2 separate regions of the Homo sapiens genome follow, and region 1 is linked to region 2. Evidence: promoter capture Hi-C in human tissues and cell types (Jung and others, 2019). All regions are on one chromosome and are shown on one strand. Each heading gives the region's core, a stretch centred on a gene start or on the middle of the fragment in contact. The rest is flanking DNA. Distances are from core to core; before and after follow the strand shown.

What was found. The method cuts DNA at HindIII sites, captures the fragments that hold promoters and counts their contacts. A contact is called where the count stands out against the background at its distance.
Region 1: a fragment that was not itself captured here is called in contact with the fragment with the promoter of DBP in region 2 in 1 of the 25 tissues and cell types used here (dorsolateral prefrontal cortex).

Annotation. Positions count from the first base shown.
Region 1 is chr19:48,330,905-48,334,110 of GRCh38, reverse strand. TMEM143 (transmembrane protein 143) reads left to right here. Exons shown (of 8, transcript NM_018273.4): 7 at 1-103; 8 at 678-1,755. The coding sequence ends at 892. Among named protein-coding and RNA genes, the nearest start is that of EMP3, 7.0 kb to the right of the region's middle. RefSeq lists a silencer at 1-237 and enhancers at 578-627, 638-727, 118-853. The HindIII fragment of the contact is 4,580 bases long and covers 1-3,206 here.
Region 2 is chr19:48,635,453-48,638,732 of GRCh38, reverse strand. DBP (D-box binding PAR bZIP transcription factor) reads left to right here and starts at 1,354. Exons shown (of 4, transcript NM_001352.5): 1 at 1,354-1,877; 2 at 2,743-3,153. The coding sequence starts at 1,739. CA11 (carbonic anhydrase 11) reads left to right here. Exons shown (of 9, transcript NM_001217.5): 9 at 589-787. The coding sequence ends at 614. It also overlaps the pseudogene SEC1P. RefSeq lists an enhancer at 137-306 and silencers at 917-1,136, 1,307-1,416, 1,647-1,766, 2,803-2,862, 2,983-3,280. The HindIII fragment of the contact is 3,626 bases long and covers 429-3,280 here.

The DNA of each region.
Region 1 (3,206 bases), core at 114-2,613, 300 kb after region 2:
AGCGCCCTGGCCCTGCGCGCGCAGGACGAGCACACCAAGGAGGCGCTGCTGGCTCACAGCTTCCTGGCCCGGCGGCCAGGGGGCACTCAAGGCTCGCCCGAAGGTAGGACGTGGCCCTGGGACCCTGCCCCCAGGGGCCACACCCCCGCGAGGCCCCGCCCCAGCGAGATGCGTCCCCACCCCCAGTTCCCACGGGTGAACCTGACGGGTTTGCGAAGAGACCCCGGCCCTCAGCAGACAGGACCTCCGAATCCAGACTCCGATCTTGGTGCCTGATGTGACAGCCCTTTCTTAACCTCAGCCTGGTTGGGAGTCTTGGCTCCATGGCACGGCCCCCTCCTGTCATTCTTTCCTCTACCTGAGCTGACACTCTCCCTACAAGAGATCCTGCGCGCTCCCTGTGTGGGCTCCAGGTGGTCCCCTTGCCTACAGGAGCCCCCACCTTCCCTGCCCAAGAGCCCCTGACTGGTCCCCAGACGAAAGCCCCAGAGCTGGGCCTTCTGGCCCTCTCGACCCTCCTGGGCCTTGTTCCGCTCCCCTCCAAGCCTCAAGATCACTCCTAGGCTTCTCCCAAACCCAGGCCCTTCCTGTTCTTTGCCCTACGCCCCTCCTTGCTGCTCCCTCGAATCTTCCCCGATCTCAGTGTGACCTCAGAACACCTGCCTCTCCCCTTGCAGAGACCTCCAGGTGGCTCCGGTCGGAGGTGGAGAACTGGCTCCTAGCCAAGTCAGGCTGTGAGGTGACCTTCAACGGAACTCGGGCCCTGGCGCATCTGCAGGCCCTGACCCCCAGCATGGGATTGTACCCACCCCCGGGTTTCCCCAAACTAGACCCAGTGGCTCCGATCACTTCCGAGCCCCCGCAAGCCACGCCCAGCAGTAACATCTCCTGAGTAGAACCTACCTCCCTGCCCAGTCAGCAGGCTAGGAACTAAGCCCCGCCTCCTTCACGACAGGCTGTCAATTACGGTTATTATACTTTTCACTCCAACTTCCAATAACTGACAGGTGATTATTTTTGCTGCACTGTGTGCTTAAGCAAAGCAGCCAATCAAAGCAGCTAGCAGTTGTTAAGTCTTCCCCGCCCCTTCGATGAACAGCCAATCAAAGCGATTTAGCTCTGCTTCTGTTCCATTTCTTAGTCCCACCCTCACCATAAACATCCAAGTGTGGTTTGGCTGAGGAGCTGAGGGTGTCTGCCAATCACAGCTGCTCAGCTCTGGCTTCTGTAAACCGCCAGGTAGAAGAGTTAAAGCTGCGCCCTCCCGAGACTATATATCATTGTCTTTTTCAGCCCGCTCCGGGCAAACTGCCCATCATGTGCACCAAGGCCGTTAGCCCTGCCTCCTGGCAAACGTCCAGTGACAGCTGCTGGGTTCCATCAACTTTGGGCAGCCGGTTGTCGCTGCAGGGAAGGAACCAATAAGAATTTCTAAAGGAAACCTGATCTTGCTATCAATTGCTGCTGCTTAAATGGCAGGCCAACTGGTCAGCTGCTGATCAGGGTGTCTAGGCTGAAGGAGTTGGAGACCTTGTGCTAGGTAGGTGAACCAGAAACCACCCTCGCCACCAAGACTCGCTCCCAACCTGGCTCCCGGCAACCTCAGGTGCCTTCCTCGCCCAGGTCTTTCACCCTTTCTACAGAAACTACCTCGGTCTGGATCTCCCCACCACCAGCAGCCTGTGCAATATTTATTGGTCTATCAATTTCTCCCGTCTCCTGTCCCAAAGTAATAAATCATGTTTAATAAGTCTGGATGAGGCTACTCTTAACGCACTGCCTTTAGGGTAACCCTGCTCTGTAGGAGTGGTTAAAAAATTATTTTTAAAAATCTAGATGAGTGGGATGGCTGCAGGAGTTGGAGGGAAGGAAAGCATTTGAATCCTGGAAAGAGGGGAGGGACTCTAGCTAGGTCTTGGGGTCCCAGACAGAGAAAGCTGTAGTCCTAAAAAGAGGCTGGGTTCATGGTCGGTGAAACAAAGACAGTCATAGAAGAGGATCTTAGAAGGATCTGATTCCAGAGGAGTCCCAGGGCCTGATGAACAGAGGAGATAGCGTAGCCATGTGCGATTGTGCAGATTTGCAGATTTTTTTTTGTTCTTGAGATGGAGTTTCGCGCTTGTTGCCCAGGCTGGAATGCAATGGCATGATCTTGGCTCACTGCAACCTCCGCCTCCTGGGTTCAAGTGATTCTCCTGCCTCAGCCTCCCGAGTAGCTGGGAGGCGCCTGCCACCGCGCCTGGCTAATTTTTTGTATTTTCAGTAGAGACGGGGTTTCACCATGTTGGCCAGGCTGGTCTCGAACTCCTGACCTCAGGTGATCCACCTGCCTCAGCCTCCCAAAGTACTGGGATTACAGGCGTGAGCCACCGCACCCGGCCTGTGCAGATTGTTAACTGCACAAAGGAACACAGCCACGGGTGGGTGGCTGTAAGACCCAGCCCATACCCCTACATGTATCCTGGTGTGGGGCTGGGTCAGCCAGAAGAAGGGGTGCCTCCTAATTTTTGCTAACGTGTCATATGGGCTAGAGGCAGCCTTTGGGGAGACAGGGGAAGTCTCCCTCTCTAGGACCCCAAATGTTCAGTCCCTAGAGAGGGAGACTGGGCTGGGCGCGGTGGCTCCCGCCTGTAATCCCAGCACTTTGGGAGGCTGAGGTGGGTGGATCACCTGAGGTCAGGAGTTCAAGACCAGCCTGGCCAACATGGTGAAACCCCGTGTCTACTAAAGATACAAAAATTAGCCGGACGTGGTGGTGGGCGCCTGTAATCCCAGCTGCTCAGGAGGCTGAGGCAGGAGAATTGCTTGAACCCGGGAGGCGGAGGTTGCAGTGAGTGAAGATCGCACCACTGCACTACAGCCTAGGTGACAGAGCGAGACTCCGTCTCAAAAAAAAAAAAAAAAAAAAAAAAGAGAGAGAGGGAGACTGGTTTCCTAGAGGGAAAAAGAAAGCTGTCTTCCCAAATGGAAAGTTAGTAGAAAGAAAAAAGAGTCCAGAACTAGCCGGGTGTGGTGGCTCGTGCCTGTAGTCCCAGCTACTCGGGAGGCTGAGGCAGGAGAATCGCTTCAACCCGGGAGGCGGAGGTTGCAGTGAGCTGAGATCGTACCACTGCACTCCAACCTGGACAGAAAGAAAAAAAGAGTCCGACAATCTAGAAACACACACTATGCCCGGGGTTCAGAGAGAGAGAGCAACAGAGTGACAG
Region 2 (3,280 bases), core at 105-2,604:
TATGTGGTACAGTCCACCTGCCAGCCCTAGGCCATTGCTAGCCCACGATTTGTCTTTCCTCTTCACTGCTTTGTAACTTGGTCTATAACCCTTGACCCCTGCCTTCCTATGGTCCAATTACCTACTGTTCTGTGCTTCCTATTACTGTGAATTTCCAAAATGGTACAATTTGGATCCTCTCTCCCTTTCCAAGTCGTACTACCTTACGCTGTTCCACAATCTGATGCTCCCTTCCCCCTTACTGAGAATCTACAAGGTACAACCCCTTCCCTCCACCTCTGCCTCCCTGTGGTTTAGCCCAGGAATCTCACACACCCCCGGCTTCGCAACATGGTACAGTCCACACCCCCCCCCCCCCATGAAGACCTTCAAGTAGTTCAGCCTACTGCTGAATCTGGACGTCCCGATTCCCCCCTCCTATTGGCTTCTTGTGGTTCAGCCCAGTGCTTCTCGACCTAGTACATTCTGGTTCCCCGCTCGCAGACTTCCGACGGTAGGGCCCAGCGCGGCGCAGCCCACGCCCCCTGCACACCCCCCGCCCCTTCCATCCTATACTGACGCCCCCTGCCGTTGTTCTCTGTCTTACAGTGGATGGTGTCCCCCATGGTCGCTGAGACTCCCCTTCGAGGATTGCACCCGCCCGTCCTAAGCCTCCCCACAAGGCGAGGGGAGTTACCCCTAAAACAAAGCTATTAAAGGGACAGAATACTTCCTGTTTTCTCAGTGGTCTGATTCTAGGCGCGGTGGGGAAACATTTGGGTATTAAAGAACAGACTTCTTCCGGAAACCAATCTTCCTCTTTCTAAACCTCCGCTCTCGGTATTTTGGCTTCCTGCTTCTCAAAACCATCTTTAGGACCGCGGCCCCTTTAAGCGGCGCCCCTTTTCCCCCCATCACCCCCCTCGCCATCAGGCAGCACGAGCAGAGCCATGTGCTTCCCCCTCCCGCCTGCCTCATTGGCCCAAACTGGGTCACGGTCCCGCCCCCCAGTACCGCCTCCCATTGGGCAAATGTAGGTCAGTGTCCCGCCTCCCACCGAAAGGCAAGGCAACTTCACGCGCTGAGCCCCTCACGCGCCCTCCTGGGCCCTGGCGGACCCAGAGGCCCCATTGGCTGTGCGTCTCAAGGTGTCGGAGACGATTGGTCCGTGTTTGCAGCCGGAGGGAGGCACGCGGCTGGGTTGCATGCCCATAGAGGCTGGCGGGGCTGGACGCGCCGGGCGGGGACCCGGAGGAGGGGCGCGCGCTGTGGCGTCGGGTGTTTTGGTTTGGATTTTTTTTTCCGCGAAAGAAGTTTGCTTTGGCCACGCCTCAAGGCGGCCGCCTCCTCCTGCCCCCTCCTCCGCCCCTCCGCGCACACCTCTCGGTGCAGATTGCAAAGCGCCTTCCGTTGCGAGAGCTGCAGATTTTGCAAGAGCCAGGCTCGCCCACCTTGTAGAAGGAGCGCCTTGAGTCCCCTCTCACCCTCGGTTGCAAAGAGCCGACCGCTTGATCTGGACACCCCCTCGCCCAGATTGCATGATCTCCCGGGACCCTCTTGAGTTGCACGTTTCTGCACCGAGGACCTCAAATCCCCGTCGCTCCTAGGATTTGCAGCGTTCTGGATACTGGAGGGTTGCAGGCTACACTCGCCCGCCCCTGGGCAGACACTCGTCCAAACCACTGGAGTGTGCTGGTGACTGGCAGGCCAGCCCTTCGCCTCTCCATGAACCCGTGAGCCTGGGGGCAGGTGCCAGGCGATGGCGCGGCCTGTGAGCGACAGGACCCCGGCCCCTCTGCTGCTGGGCGGCCCGGCCGGGACACCCCCTGGCGGGGGAGCGCTGCTTGGGTTGCGGAGCCTTCTGCAGGGGACCAGCAAGCCCAAAGAGCCGGCCAGCTGTGAGTTCTAACCCCCATCTCACCCACTTCGGACACCCTACCCCCTTAGGGACTCAGGTGCCGTGGGGTGGGGTCCCATAGAAACCTGCGTGCGGGGAGTCCATCTTCCCAACCTTAATCTACTCAATTACTCAGGTGTTTAGGCCCCTAGATCCCTTAGCGCCCAGGACCCAAAAGCGCCGGCTCTGAAGCCCGTCCACCCTAAGGACCCAGGCACCAACGTCCCCAACGTCCTCCCCGCTTAGTTCACAAGAGTGTAGGCCCCAGCCTCCTCTTCCTTTTGGTCCGGGAGTCTGGACCCCTGGGGTCCCAGGGAGGGGGTGTGTCGGGTGCTCACACGGTGGTGACACGGGCTTGGGCGGGGCGTCATGGGGTCACATGGAGTCTAGGGATGAGGGATGTGCCCCAGGAATAGAGCCCCTTCCTGCCCCTTACAGATGGTGGGGGAGGGGAAGGGGGTACAGCGCGCAGGGGATGGGGGTTGGGTAATTACAGTGAAATTACAGAGCTGTCATTTTTTCTCTCACCTGCCCAACCCTCCACCTACCCTGTCCCTGCCCCCCTATTCCTGAACTTCCGTCTCTCTTTCTCTGGTTCGCTGTCTTTCTGTGTGTCTATTCCTTCCCGGCATTCTGTCCCCATCTCTGTGAATCTGTCCACCTGTCTCTGCCACCCCCGTCTCCATTCTTTCTGGGTCTCTCTCCCACTCTGCGTCTCCGTCCCTTTTTCTCCCGTCTCTCCTCTCCGACCCCCCGTCCCCTCTTTCTCTGGATCTCCGCCCTGTGCCTCTCGGACTCGGGGTCTCTTCTCCATCTCTATCTCCCCCACCTCACCCTCATCCCAACCCGTCTTTCCCGGCCCGCAGGTCTCCTGAAGGAAAAGGAGCGCAAGGCGGCCCTGCCTGCAGCCACAACCCCTGGGCCAGGCCTGGAGACTGCGGGCCCGGCGGATGCCCCGGCTGGGGCAGTGGTGGGCGGAGGGTCCCCGCGGGGGCGCCCGGGGCCGGTGCCCGCCCCGGGTCTGTTGGCGCCACTGCTGTGGGAGCGCACGCTGCCGTTCGGCGATGTGGAGTACGTAGACCTGGACGCCTTCCTGCTGGAGCACGGGCTCCCGCCCAGCCCGCCGCCCCCCGGTGGCCCGTCGCCGGAGCCGTCGCCCGCGCGGACGCCCGCACCCTCCCCAGGGCCGGGTTCGTGCGGCTCGGCTTCCCCCCGCTCCTCTCCTGGGCACGCCCCCGCCCGGGCTGCCCTCGGGACCGCCAGCGGCCACCGCGCAGGTGCGGCGAAGGGGGCGGGGCGGGTCCTGACGGGGCGGGGCTTGGACTCAGGGGGCGGGGCTGTGCGACGCTGGGGGCTGGGACCGTGGGACCTGGCTGCGGCCTCGAATTCTGTGTCCAGTTGTCG